Regions from separate parts of the Homo sapiens genome. Here all the other regions are linked to region 1. The links are contacts of gene promoters, found by promoter capture Hi-C in human tissues and cell types (Jung and others, 2019). All regions are on one chromosome and are shown on one strand. The core of a region is centred on a gene start or on the middle of the fragment in contact, and the rest is flanking DNA. Distances in the headings are between cores, read along the strand shown. Region 1 holds the start of NKX3-1 (NK3 homeobox 1). Region 2 has its middle 61 kb from the start of NKX3-1. Region 3 overlaps LOC107986930 (a long non-coding RNA gene).

Region 1 (4,924 bases), core at 1,409-3,908:
GGAAGAATTATGTTGCCTTTCAGGATACAGTATATATGATAGCCTGAAAACTCCAGGAAACTTCTGATTCTAAATTCTCCAGCCCAAGGGAAAAAAGTTGAGAAGAGGCCTTTCCACTTTCTACTAATAAAAAAATGCAACAGCCCCTAGCAGCAGTGTGGAGACCCTCCTTAGGCCCCTGTCTTGGACAAGCGGAGATTCTCCTGGCCCGGCCCCCCCTCTTGCAGTGGAGTTCTGTTTATACAGCTTGTCTTAAAATCACAGCGAGTGCATCTTGTTCTATTTGGGCCACCCTGTAAATACTTAAGTTGGCATACCATTTTAAAAGGAATAAAAAGGAATAAGAAAAGCTGATATTTTCATCTCCTCCCACCCATCTCCCCCTCCCATGCAAATATGTGCTGAGCATGAGGGCGTTCTCTTGGAGACTCTCTATTTGCCCCTCTCTTTTACAGGGACAGAGAGAGCCTTGGCCATATTCCAAGGCCAACAGGAGGCTTCTGGACTTAAGTTTAATTCAGTTGGTGACATCCTCATCCTGGTTGTCCTTTCTCCTGTTAGGTTTGCTCTTTCAGAGTTGATATTCAGTGACACAGGAGGATGGAGTTGCAGAACAGAATCCTTGGGTGTACAACTCATCCAAAATCATACAAAGTGCTGGAAAATACCACTTGATTTTCCCTCTCTCCCCTTCAAACAGGTAGCCAGAAGCAAAAAAAATGACCTACAGTATGCACTGGAGGAATGACTTAGGTATTAAAACTTTCACTGTCTCTGTTGTTTCATTGTCTCACCAGTGAAGAATCTGAGATTTCCACGCAAATCTCCAATAGCTTTGGTGTGCACACCTCTTGCTCCCTGACCTTGGCCCCTTGTGCTTTTCATAGAGACACCCTGGGGAAGGCAGTTTTTGATCATAATGGTTGTCACCTGAGCTGGCATTACCAAAAAGCTGGGCTCCAGCTGCCCACGCAGTACAGGTATGGGTAGTAAGGATAGCTGTTATACACGGAGACCAGGGAGGCCCGGGAGAAGGCCTCCTCTTTCAGGGCCGGCAAAGAGGAGTGCTTCTCCAAGTCTCCCAGCTCCGAGGAGAGCTGCTTTCGCTTAGTCTTATAGCGTCTGTTCTGGAACCATATCTTCACTTGGGTCTCCGTGAGCTTGAGGTTCTTGGCCAGGTGGGCCCGTTCAGGGGCCGACAGGTACTTCTGATGGCTGAACTTCCTCTCCAACTCGATCACCTGAGTGTGGGAGAAGGCAGCTCGGGAGCGCTTCTGCGGCTGCTTAGGGGTTTGGGGAAGCCTTGGAAGGGCGCCTGAAGTGTTTTCAGAGTCCAACAGATAAGACCCCAAGTGCCTTTCTGGAAAGGAGAGTGGGGAAGGAGGGATGGGAAGACAAAAGTTACATGTTAGCAGGGAAGAGAACAGAATTCAATCCACCCTTATCTCTTTAGTGAGTGAACAAACAGCCCACTGTCATCGTGGATACATTTCACTTTTTTCACATGACTAAGGAGCTCTCCGGAGTGAAGAGTGAGTAAATATGTTTATTACGCATTCATTTGCTAAGAATCATCAAGAACCCAAAGTTAGAGACGTTTCGTGGTTGAACTTTCTCCCTACTGTCTAGTAGAATTATATGGGGATTCTGGATCTGTGTGCTGAGGAGAGGCGGGAGAGGGAGGCAGGGAAAATGCCGTGGAACAAGATACCCGGGAAGGCCAGACCAAAAGACATCCGGTGTTAGGATCCAGGTGGGCAAGAGAGGGCTTGTGCCACTGGAGACGCAGAGGCAGGCTCATTCTGGGCTTTAATTCCCTCTTCGCTAAACGAGGCGTTCGGTCGCCTCATCAGAAGTGACAGGAAAGAAAATAAGTGGACTCTCTCTCCTGGACACCGGAGGGAACCCCGAATATACCGCTTTACTGCCCACGGGATTGGGAAGCACACGGAGGCTTTGCTGGTCAACCCCTGCTTTGTCACTGTTAATAAGTTATTATTAGTTCTCATAACTACCGGGGGGCTGGCGCCGATCGCGGGTGGCGCGGGGCGGGATCCGCTCCTGGGACGGTGGAGGGCGGTGGCGCTGCAGTCGCGCCGGCTTCTGAGCCCCAGGGAGCGGAGGGCACGGAGCCGGGCGAGTCCTGCGGTGTCAGAATCCTGCGCCGCCCTGACGCTGGGGCTCAGGGTTCATTCCGGGGGCGCGCGCGTGGCTGCGGAGGCGGGAAGGTCCCTCTGCCTGTCGCCGCGGAGCCCCGCGTCCCTGCACCCCGAGCTCTGGGGGTCCGCCTTGGGCTGCCCCCCTTCCCCGGCCTCGCCGCTTACCTGGCTCGGTCTCTGCCAGCGTCTCGGCCTCCTCCGGCGCGGCGCGGGGCCCGGTGCTCAGCTGGTCGTTCTGCGCCCCGGCGCGGCTGCGTCCTCCCTCTGGCTCTGGCTCTGGCTCCGGCTCCGGGTCGCGCTGTCTCTGGCTGCTCGTGCGGCCGCCTTGCCGCTGCGCGCCGTCCCGCAGGATGTCCTGGATGAGGAAGGACGTGAGCGGCTTGGACGGGGTCGGCGGCGCGGCCCCCTCCGCTTTCGCCTCCCCGGGCCGCGGCTCCGGAACCCTGAGCATCCCGGCGGCCCCGCCTTGGCCTGAATGCACCCGCCCGGCCCGCACCGCTTTCACTTTCCGCCTCCCGGCTCGCTTATAGCCCAGGGGAGCGGGCCGCGCCGCCCTCCCATTGGCCGCGGGACGGGCCGCGCCGCGGATTGGCCGCCCTGAGCCCCAGGTGACCCCGCCGATCTGCGAGCCCTGAGCACTGCCCCGCTCCGCTCCTCCCTAGGGGATTCCTTCCCCAGTTCCCTCTCCTTCCCCAATTCCCTCTCCTTCCCCAATTTCCTCTCCTTCTCCAGCTCTCCTCCCTCCGCCCTGAGCCGTTTTCCCAGGCCAGGAGCGCACCCCAAAGCGGGGCTCCTCTGCCCCAACCCACCCGCAACAGAGAGAAGCTCCTGGGGATGGGACGATCAAGACAAACAGTCCAGTTAGCTCTTCAGGACCGTCAGAGCCAATTACAGGGGATGAGCACGCAGTCACTGCAGCCGCGCGGTACCGTGAGAGTTCTGGGTGCTCTCTCTCTCTGGGAGAGATGGTGCAAACTCAGATCTGCAATATCTACGACCTCAAAGAGGCATGACAAGTAGGTGCAGCCAGACCCCAGGCTGAAAGAAGGAAAACACCTTTGCCAAAGCCTTTTCCCGTTGCAGAAGTGGTTTTCTTTGGTGGTTCCTTTATCCGCAATAACCTGTTAACTTTCCTTCCTCCCCAGACACATGACATACCATCCTTTTGAAAAGTTTCCAGACGGATGGAAGGCGTTTTAGGCCAGGACAAATGCAAAAACTGCATTTAAAAAAGTAGTTCAAAAGAACATCAGCATACTCTTTTTGCAGATTACCAACTGTTAACATGTAACCCATTGGCTAAACAATGGGTTAGCCAGATTGGTCCAACCGGTACTGTGACTGGACTGGACGGTACCGTGACAACAGACGAAAGTGGAACAGAGATGATGGAAGTATTTTCTTTCCTTGTCTTTTCTCTTCTTTTTTTTACGGACAGGGTCTCCCTCTGCCGCCCAGGCTGGAGTGCAGTGATGCCATCATAACTCACTGCAGCCTCGATTTCCTGGATTCAAGTGATCCTCCTGCCTTGGCCTCTCAAAGTGCCAGGACTACAGGCATGAGTCTCAGTGTCAGGTCGATGATGGAAGTATTGAATTAATGTTAAATTTACTGAAATTGCACATTGTACTGTCAGTGTACAAGAGAATATTTTTAGGAAATAAACACTGAAGTAAGTAGGAGCAAAGGCACAAGATTTATGAAACTTACATCAAATGGTTCTGAAACAAGGATGCAGATTGATAGATCCCACGCCATAAAGCCGATGGGTTAAATGGTAACAGTTGGTAATCTGGAAAAAGGGTAGGCTGATGTTTTTTAGAACCATTTTTTTAATGCAACTTTTTTGTCTGTCCTGGTCTAAGACGGCTTCTATTCAACTGGCAACTTTTCAAAAGGATGGTATGTCATGTGTCTCTGGAGGAAGGAAAGTTAATAGGTTATTGCTGATAAAGCGACCGCCAAAGAAAACTACCTGTGCAACGGGAAAGACTTTGGCAAAGCTGGTTTTCTTCTCTCATCTTTTCAAAGTCTCTTTATATTAGAACATTCTTTAATGTTTTCTTTTGAATCATTGTAGATTCACAGGAAGTTGCAAAAATAATACCTCCAGTGTCCTCCAAAGACATCTATACAACTGTAGGACAATGTAGAAAACAGGAAATTTACGTTGGGACATTACAGTTAACTAGACTACAGACGTCATTTATTTATTTATTTAGAGATAGGGTCTTGCTCTGTTGCCCAGGCTGGAGTGCAGTGGAGAGATCATGGCTCACTGCAACTTCAACCTCCTGGGCTCAGGAGATTCTCCCACCTCAGCCTCCTGAATAGCTGGGACTACAGGTGTGTGCCACCCTGCCCAGTTAATTTTTGTAGTTTTTGTAAAGATAAGGTTTCACCCTGTTGCCCAGGCTGGTCTCAAAGCCCTGGGCTCAAACAATCCTTCCGCCTCCACCACCCAAAGTGCTGAGACTACAGGTGTGAGCCACTGTGCTGGGCCTTATTGTGGTTTAAATTTTTAATTTGCATTTCACAAATGCCTAGAGATGTTGAATACCTTGTCATGTGCTTGTTTGCCATCCATATTTCCTCTTTGGTGAAATATCTGTTCAAGCCTTTTGCTCATATTATAATTGAATTTTTCTTTCTTTTATTTTTTAACCATTGAGTTATGATAGTTCTTTATATATTGCTGTTTGTAAGTCTTTGTTTGGTAGGTTATTTGCAAATATTATCTCCCAGTCTGTAGCTTGTGTTTCCAT
Region 2 (4,924 bases), core at 629-3,128, 61 kb before region 1:
TATCTTATAGATAAATAATATTTAATGATTAATAAGAATTAATTTGAGACATATGCCATTGCAAAGCAGAGTTTCTGGTTAGCATAAAATGTCTGGTTGGAATTCATAAAATTTAGCTAAAAGCAAAAAGTCTTAATAAGCATTTCTTGAGAACTGACTATCTGTCAGGCACTACCCTAAGTGACTTCCCTGCATCAAATCAGGTGAGCCTCAGAAGCAACCTATGCTGTAGGTACTATTATCACCCCTATTTTACCGATGAGGAAACTGAGGTTCAGGGAAGCTGAGTAAACTGGACAAGGTTTCACAGCTGGTGAATTGTGATGCTGAATGAAATTCAGACAGTCTGGCTCCAGACTCTAAACTCTTAACTTTGTAATGCACAATTGACCCTTGAATTAGACCTTGTGGTGGTTTGAATGCAAATGAATAATTTCTGATAGTTTCTGAAACAATTAAAATAGCACACAGACATCAATTACTACCTGTGGGGGCACCCACGTAGAAGCCTCTGCTCTAAAACTAGAATACTGATTTGTGTCCTGAGCCCTGCATTGAACAAATGTTACATACTCCCCATCATTATTACAGGGCCCAAAGATTGCTAAGACATTATCAGATACAACCATGATATATTAATTGGCAATACATAGAGATGGGGCAGTGCTATCTAGCGGGCTTGTAACCCAACCAGAGTTTCATTTTTAAAAGCTGGGCCTATTAAAAGAGAAACACCTCATCCAATAGGCTATTATCCTGCAAATATGTATTTAGGGACATTTGAAATTGTTCTATTTACCTAATCATCTTTAATGGCTACTTTGGATCTATGACAGCTATATGTGTAAATACGGCTCTTAGATCTTTCTCAAGGTATGATACTGGTCCAATAGACCATAACAACTTCTTCAGGGAACAGGATTTCCTTGAAGCAGAATCTATGGAGTATCAAACAGGGCTCACAGTGCTTTAGGAGTTGCTTCTGAGGTCATTTCAGAATGCTCTCCTCAGAACTCCTTGTCAAAAATTATTAGGACATGGGTACGGACCACTAAGATCTGAATATCAATAAACGTGAAAGCCAAACATTGATTTAAAAAAAAATAAGAACAGGGTCAGCATGATTCTTCATGGGCAATAAACCGATAATAGGCAAGGAGAAGTAATTAAAAAAGAGTTTGTGCAGCCAAACCAAATATATTAAGCAACAAAGCTATGATAATACCGGTTACTATATAGTAAAGTAGAAATTGCTGATTTTAGACAGAGGGAACACAGATATTATTCCAATATATTCTAGCATATTGAGAAATGATTCACTTGACTGGTGAAGTTCATCCCTCACTGTGATATAACAGGACATGCATAATTGCCTCTCCCCAGCTGTGCCTATGGGACTATGGCATAGCTTACAAGACCCTGCTCAACTTTTATATTAGTTTCCTGTGGTTGCTATAACAAAGTATTACAAACTGGGTGGCTAAAAACGACAGAAAGGTATTCTATTGCCATTCTGGAGGCCAGGAGTCTGAAATCAAGGTGTCCACAGGGCCATCCACACTCCCTCTAAAACCTATGTGAGAGTCTGGGCCTGGTGGCTCACGCCTACAATCCCAGCACTTTGGGAGGCTGAGGTGGGCGGATCACTTGAGGTCAGGAGTTTGAGATCAGCCTGGCCAACATGGTAAAACCTCTACTAAAAATACAAAAATTAGCTGCGCATGGTGGCATGTGCCTGTAGTCCCAGCTAATCAGGAGGCTAAGGCAGGAGAATCGCTTGAACCTGGGAGGTGGAGGTTGCAGTGAGCCGAGATCATGCCACTGCCCTCCAGTCTGGGCAACAGAGTGAGACTCCATTTCAAAGCAAAAAACAAAAAACCAACCAACAAACACTGTATTGGAGGATCCCTGCAGGCTTTTCCTAGCTTCTGGTGATTTGCTGGCCACCCGTTACCTTTCTTGGTTTGCAGGTGCACAGTTTAAGTCTCTCTTCCCTTTATCCTATGTCATTCTCTGCACGTATGTCTTCGCTTGGCATTCTCTTCCTTGTCTCTCTCTTTCCCCTTCTGGTAAGGACAGCAGTCACATTGGATTAAACACCTACCCAAATCCAGTAGGGTTTTATCTTAACTACATCTGCAGGACCCTATTTTCCAAATAAGGTTGCCTTCTGAGGTACTGGGGGTTGAGTCTCTAACATACCTTTTTGGGAGTCATATGCAACCTGAAACAGCTCCCGTCCCTTTAATATCACTCTTCACTCTGCATTTGTGTAGTTGGCAGGTCTCTAGCCACCAACTTGCACCTGCACCACCATCCTGACCCTTACCATAGGCCACCTGATACTATCATCTGTTCTGCACTGTGCCATCTGCTCTATGTCTTGCCTCCCTAATTGTATTGTAACTCTTTGGTAAAGAATTCTTACTCAAACTTATTTCTCACAAAGCACTTAAAACAGTGATTTGATATCAATAGCACCTTCTACTCTTAGAGCAACTTTATACTTTTAAAAATTATTTCACATACATTATCTGGCATGTTTCTTTCAACCTTCCCACGTGGTAGATTGGATTGATGGTATTATCCTAAATGTCAAAGGGAATTAAGATCCAGAGAGGCGAAGTGACATGCCAAAATGCTGAGACAGTGGGCTTGGGCTAGTCTCAGCACCTTGTATTGAAAAACTTCTCCTTCTTATTCTCATTCTCTGTAATTTGATTTGTAATGAACCAAGAGTCCTTCTGGGAAAACAAAACAAAACAAAGCAAAATAAAACTCCTTACTCTCAAGGCAAGGCACCTGCAATGAGTGAGAGGAGGGAGGGGATAATGGATGAATCTAAAGTCTGTCTTTTCTGTGAGTGGAACTGGAAGAAAGTTGCAAAACCACACAGCCTTCCTGTTTCCTCAATCAGGCCTTGCTTTTTTCCTCCAGCATAGCAATGAAAAACTTTGACTTTTCTTAAATTTCTGACCCCATGACCTATTCCCGCAGTCTGAGATGGCTGTTTCTCCTCCTTTTTTTTTTTTTTTTTTTATAAAAAGTATCCAGTGGAAACTCCTTCAATATCCTTCCACCTACCTGAAAAAAGGCTAGAATTGGGGAGGAGAGGAGAAAGGGTGAGTGTGAGCGGGGACAGAAGTTAGTGGCATCTGACTAAGGGTCAGCTGACTAGAGCTGTGTTAGCTGGAAAGACTGCGCCGCCTCTTTGTGCACAAGCATTGGAGGGTCCCTAGCCCCAGGGAGCCGCGCGGGGATAGGAGGCAGACTGCTTTGAGCAGGAAGGTGGCAGAGGAAGGAGCCCCTGTTTGAGAAGAAGCTCTCACGCTGTGAACACCTCTTTCCACTTCTTTCTGTCTTTACTGGGACTCATGAAGGAGAACTTGGAAAATCATAATTAGCTTGGAGAAGATAAAAGAGGTCCTCCTTGGTGGGAGGGTGAGGAGAGCGATGGAAAGGGAAAATGAGATAGGGAGGGAGAGGAGGAGGAGGAAGAGGAGGAGGAAGAGCAGACAGAGAGAGAGGGAGAGACAGAGAGAGAGAGAGAAAGCTGGCACACAGAATAAAAGACATAGATAGTCCTAAGGAGAAAAACTTAGCAACTTTTCTCTGACCATGATAAGCTGCTAGTTACAATGTGAGGTGATGCTTGCTACTCCAAATGGATGTATTGTAACCAGGCTTTTATACTGTGAATTCTCTCCTCGATACTTTTGCTTCCAGACTTTCTCTCTATTCCTATAGGCTAAGTACCATCTAGCAGGGACTAGGGAGGTGGTTTCACAATTAAATTGAGAGAGGAGAAGGGGGGAGAGTAAGAGAGATCATATCAACAATCAGGGAACAACTTAGGTTGAAAGGCACTCCAAGTTTAGACATTCAATCTGTTTGCATAAATGAGGAATGCAAAGAAAATATGGGGACAGATTCTTCGAGTGTGTGACAAGCTAAGCTGGTGGTTTAGGCTCTTAGAAGAATGCAAAAACCCCACACGAAAAGCCACGCAGAAGAAGAGCAAGGTTTGCATGCAAGATATTTCTATCTGCTCTACATACCCACCCTCTCCTCATGCCTGTGTGCTCTCTGTGACACACACACACACACTTGCCCACACGCACACACATACACACACCAGTCTTCTCTAACACTCCTAGACCTGAAGTTTAGCCAGAATCTAAGGACTGGAGCTCTGAGCAGGGGCAGGGGAACCTCCACTGCCCTAGTTCAGCTGTAATCCAACGATCATCATTCACAAGTGAACTAGGGGGTCTTGAAAATATATGTCACGAGTCTTGAGGATTCCAGGAGCCTCAGGACTCTAAAAGCAATGAGGGATTCAGGCCATGTGTCCATGTGCTACCATGATAAAATAGACCAAGGGTAATGAAAGGTTATTAGCGTGGAATAAAAGTTGAAGCTTGGAACTTGGGAGGCCTGTACCTCTTCTCTAAGCAACCTGAACCTCTTCTCTAAGCAAAGTGCTGTCTTCTGGATCTGTTTCCCCTTCTGCAAAGAAATGTGTTTTCCTGTGTTTTAGGCCAGTGTTTCTCAAATTGTAATGGGCATACAAGGTACCAGGGATATTGCTAATGGGAAGATCCTGATTCAGCAGTTCTGGGGTAGGCCTTGGGGGTCTACATTTATAATAAGATCCCGAGCTGCCAGTAACCTACCTAACACCTTTGCCTGAATTAGAAAAAGTGTCTCCCTCTGGGTAGATGCAGCCCTGTGGTTGCCTTTGTAAAAGGAATTCTTTTCCTGTGCAGTTTTACTAGTGATGTGCAGGATGTATTTCAGCCCCTGCATTTCTTCGGACAGTGCCTTTGAGCAGTGCACAAGTTGCCCGTCTGCACATGGCAGTCCTCACCAGGTAGACAGATGTCTCCTGGACTACTGCGAAGACAGCCTTGCTTCTGATCCT
Region 3 (4,924 bases), core at 1,197-3,696, 62 kb after region 1:
CTGAGCTACTTGCAAGGCTGAGGTGGATGATCACCTGTGCCCGGGACGCAGAGGCTGTAGTGAGTCGTGATTGTGCCACTGCACTCTTGCCTGGGTGACAAAGTGAGACCCCGTCTCAAAAAAAAAAAAAAGTTGCTAAAGAAGCCCAGAGCCTTCCATGCATGTGGTATAACCTCTGCCTCTGTACCTACAAGGGCTGGGTTTTCTCTGAACTTCCTCAAGCTGCAGGTTCCTCTCTCCTTCCATAGGTGGAGGCAGCCTGGGCCTGGCTGGAGCAGGCGATTCTGTGCTGGTGGCTAGATAGAGTCACACCCCAAACCTGTTCCTTTTCTGTTCATGGTGTTGAGCAGTCAGTGACGACCTTGCTAATAAGAAGGAGAATGCCCTGGTTCAGATGGTTGATAGGTGCCAGGCCCAACTGGCTGAGAGTTATCTGCAATGGCCCTAAGTTTCCTAGGAAGCTTTGATAAGCATCAGAGCTGCAGCTTTCTCAAGAAGGCCAACAGAACTAGGGTCTAAGACTGAAGACTATGGAAACTCTCCCCTCTATTGTTTCAAAAATCCAGAATCCTAAAATTTCCAGAATGTTTCATTGTTCATAACCCTGGACCTTTTCAAAATCCTGTAGTTTATATTTTAAAAAGACCTTAAGTTTTTAACTTTTTAAAAGTAGTGGGATGTAAAAGAGACTATCAAATAGGGTGACAGTTGAATTTCCATTTGAAAAGGAAGAAATTGAGTCTCAGTGACAGGAAGTAGATAGAAAGGCAAAGATTTGAATAAAATCATATCCTGATGTCTGTTTCTTTTAAAAAAGTGGAAGAATGAGCTCAGTATTCAAATTCTTCTGGAATGATCTTAAGCTGGCCTGCAGGTAACATTCCCCAAGTCCACATTTACAGGTCGGGATGACCCATTGAGAGGAAACTGGATGAACAAAATCCTGGTGTTCAGCCTTACCTGGAAACGGGCAGAATACCTGCTGACAACTTCTGTCATCCCAGACAAATAGCTACTTTACAAAGCTCCAGATTGAAAGTGAAAGACCAGAGATGTTATGATTTTTTTAAAGAGAATAATCAGTTGACCGGTTCAAACAATTAATGAAAATCACATGGTGTTCCTTACGGTGATGGGACAGTAGTCATGGGGTCTTGATGACTATGTGAGGTGGGCGAAATACTGGCTGCTATTATTTATGCGCTGAGGACTGGCTCTGGGACAGATTTTCTCCTTTCCTGCTCTCCTCTCCTCTCTTCCCCCAACTCCCACCTCAACAGTCCTACAAATCTATGAGGTTTCACATTGGTGCCTTTCCCTACTCACTCTTCAGTACTCAAAACACCCTGAACTGCAGTGTGGTCTACCCTGAGGCCTTTGTTTTCAGGTCTTGGAAAGTGTGTGTGTGCAGGATCCCCGGCTCCTCCAAGCATGAGATTTCTAAGCATGTCCCTAGACCACCACTGTGCCATCTCGTACCTTAAAAACTTCTTATGATATTAATGAGGAAAGCCACGCTGCTTTCAGCGATGTGTAGATGCTTTGGAGAACTCAGTGGAATGGGTTATTTTACTTTCAGATGAATTCATTTTGAATAAAAAAATATCCAGGTATTGTGTTTGTTCTGCTCATGAAATACCTTCTGTCTGCAGATTATCAAGTATCTTGACACTTTGTCATCCAGACAGACACTTTTTTTTTGGAGGGGAAGGAGTTTATATGGCTGCTTGACAAAAAATGGTAAGCCTAGCCAGTGGAGACACTGATGACCCTGTTAGGTCTTTTGCTGGTTAGGAGACATCCTGCTTTCCAAGATTCAGTTAATTAAACAACACTGGTTCTCCCCTCATCCTCCTTTGAGCGTAATTTAGACAGGTCAGTCGGCATAACAGTCTCCTAACCATGAATAGCATGACAAGTGCCTGGCCCACCTGGCTGAGAATCACTGTTCTTTACTCTTCTGGGAGGGAAGTGGTGCCTCTCATTTAGTAAACTGTTTGGTCACCTTTGTCCCACCCCCTACTCTCTACCTGGCCTAGGGAGGCCAATTTATTACTCCCTTCTTATTGCATCTTCAACTTTTGAACTTTGGTTTCTCATATTATTCTTTTGTTGCAGTGGCAGGCATCTATTTCTAGTTGAATAGATAGTCTTCTCTTTCAAAAATTAATATGCAAGAGAAATGTTTAAAATTAACTTTTTAAAGCAAATGATGATAACAATTAAGGTGTCATTTACATTTTCTCCATTTCTTGTGTACTGTATTTTACAATTTTCTTCTTTTGTTGCTCAGTGACATAGAAGAACTGGAATTTAGATTTCAGTTAGTAAGCTGAAGTCATATCATAGCTGTGGGATTGAACGATGTGGGGTTGAGTCAAACACAAGGAAGTACTGGCAGCTCCAGTAGCCGAAAAGTGGAGAAAACGGTTGTGGTTTTCTCCAGGAAAACCTCCAGTCTAGACCTTTAGAAAGAGATCAAGCCAGCTTCTACTGCCTGGGAGGCTTCCTGCCACATACCACTCAAACTTTGATATTGCAAAATCCAATGCCATCTTTCATTTCTATGCAACTTTTAATCTGCTTAGATGTGGAAAAATATCTCTTAAAAACTCCTTCAAGATTTTTTTTTTCCAAATTGTATATTCAACTTTTGCTTTTGTTGCCTCTAGTGTTGGGGATTCAGAGGGAGGGCACTGAGGAGTTTGAATTCTCAATGTTGTGAATCCCTTGTCTGCCTTCTTGGGTGCAAATTGAACCAAGGTCCTGGACCTGCCTTTTTTGGTTACTTACCTGCTTGCCCTTAAGCTTGTGGTATCATTTCCAGAGAAATGGAAATTTCTTCCCAGAAAGAAAATCTCCCAAAGACTTTTAAACAAGGGGCCTTCTATCCCCACTGATAACACATCAGGTTTTTTTTTTAGTCTCAAATTGGAAACTCACAAGAGCCTAGCACCTGGTTACTGCCTGACCTGGCAACTGCCTGATCTAGCAAAAACTCAGCTTTCAAGGGTTGAACTCTGGAGGCGGAGGTTGCAGTGAGCCGAGATTGTGCCACTGCACTCCAGCCTGGGTGATACAGCAAGACTCCGTGTCAAAAAACAACAACAAAAAAACAGATTCCTGGTCCCCATCGCAAACCCATTCCATTCAATTACATGTGGGTGGCGCTTGGGGCAGTTCTGACGCAACCCCCAGGTTTGAAGGTCTCTGGCCTGGGTAACCGGGTCTCCTTCAAGGGAGTCCCTTGAAGGGTCCCTTTCAAGGGAGGCATGGCAAGCAGGTACAATTTAACCAAATGACCCTTTTTATCCCAATGAGAATATAGGAGCTTGGAAGAAACCGAAAGGGCTGGACCCTGAAAGTAGCATGAAATCCATGTCTGCCTTGCAATCTCTCTTTCTCTCTTTCTTTCTCTCTCTCTCTCTTCCTCCCTCCCTCCGTCGTTCTCTCTCTCTCTTTTCTTTCTTTCTCTCTCTTTCTTTCCCTTCCTTCCTTCCCTCCCTCCTTCCCTGCCTCCCTCCTTTCTTTCTCTTTCTTTCTTTTCTTTTCTTTTCCTTCCTTCCTTCCCTCCCTCCCTCCCTTCTTTCTTTCCTTTCTTTCTTTCTTTCTTCTTTCTTTCTTTCTTTCTTTCTTTCTTTCTTTCTTTCTTTCTCTCTCTCTCTCTCTCTCTCTCTCTCTCTCTCTTTCTTTCTTTTTCTTTCTTTCTTTTTCTTTCTTGGTTTTTTTCTTTCTTTCTTTCTCTCTCTTTCTTTCTTTCTTCCTTTCTTTCTTTCTTTTTTACTCTTGTTGCCCAGGTTGGAGTGCAATGGTGCAGTCTTGGCTCACCACAACCTCTGCCTCCCGGGTTCAAGCGATTCTCCTGCCTCAGCCTCCCGAGTAGCTGAGATTACAGGCATGCGCCACCACACCCGGCTAATTTTGTATTTTTAGTAGAGATGGCATTTCACCATGTTGGTCAGGCTGGTCTCAAACTCCCAACTACAGGTGATCCTCCCACCTCCGCCTCCCAAAATGCTGGGATTACAGGCGTGAGCCACCACACCCGGCCCCTGCCTTGCAATTTTTAACAGAAGTAATCCCAGCACCACTGTGCAACTTGGAGTCTATTTGCTTCTCTGATTTTGTCCATAAGGAGTGTAACAGAGATTTAAATATGAATTACTTTTTATATCTTTTGTAAAACATGAGGCAACACAGAGGCTTTTTTTTTTAATGCTAAAATAAATCAGTAGTACATCCTAAGCAATATTCTTTTGTATCCATGGAGTGGTTTAGTGACCACAAAAATATTCCTGTCTCAAAATACTTGTAATTGGGGAAATAAGCCAATTTTATAACAACTACCACCAGAAAAAAAAAAAAGCTAAATTAAAAAAATTGCCTTCTGAGTATTTGGTATGATTTATACTCAGAACATGTCAAAATATATTTTTAAACTATTCAATAATTGATAAAACAAAAAACCCCTACAAATTGAGTATGTCCTTTGAATTAACAATTCCGTTTTAAAAAATTTATTTTTATTTTTTTGGAGACAGACTCTTGCCTAGGCTGGAGCAGTGACGTGGTCATAGTTCACTGTACCCTCAAACTCCTGGGCTCCTTGACTTAACAATTGTTTCTATTTTACAAAAGCAATGCCATAATTACATAAAGATGTATGCCCCAGGACAGTAATTGGACTGGCATTTGTAACTGAAAAACAACAAAAAAAATCTATTCATTAATGTATATTTCAGTGATAATACAGTGAAATAGCACATATCCACTATAAAAATGTATGGACTTGGAAAAAAGATATCATGATATATTTGTTAAAGTGAAAAGTATGAGTTATGGACCAAGAAATTTTATATAATTCCACATTTAAAAAAAAGAGTTTACATGCACATATGTATGGGTATGTGTAAATGCACAATGG

Evidence for each region. Contacts are between HindIII fragments. The study calls those that stand out against the background at their distance.
Region 2: a contact is called between a fragment that was not itself captured here and the fragment with the promoter of NKX3-1 in region 1, in 1 of the 25 tissues and cell types used here (mesenchymal stem cells).
Region 3: a fragment that was not itself captured here is called in contact with the fragment with the promoter of NKX3-1 in region 1 in 1 of the 25 tissues and cell types used here (mesenchymal stem cells).

The regions. Positions count from the first base shown.
Region 1 is chr8:23,680,280-23,685,203 of GRCh38, forward strand. NKX3-1 (NK3 homeobox 1) reads right to left here and starts at 2,659. Exons shown (of 2, transcript NM_006167.4): 1 at 2,325-2,659; 2 at 1-1,360. The coding sequence starts at 2,610. The coding sequence ends at 942. The region is part of intron 3 of LOC107986930 (a long non-coding RNA gene); the gene reads left to right. RefSeq lists silencers at 2,241-2,290, 2,331-2,840. The HindIII fragment of the contact is 20,085 bases long and covers 1-4,924 here.
Region 2 is chr8:23,619,721-23,624,644 of GRCh38, forward strand. No RefSeq gene overlaps it. Among named protein-coding and RNA genes, the nearest start is that of NKX3-1, 61 kb to the right of the region's middle. The HindIII fragment of the contact is 6,055 bases long and covers 1-4,906 here.
Region 3 is chr8:23,742,802-23,747,725 of GRCh38, forward strand. All of the region lies in intron 3 of LOC107986930 (a long non-coding RNA gene), which reads left to right. Among named protein-coding and RNA genes, the nearest start is that of NKX2-6, 39 kb to the left of the region's middle. The HindIII fragment of the contact is 5,091 bases long and covers 1-4,924 here.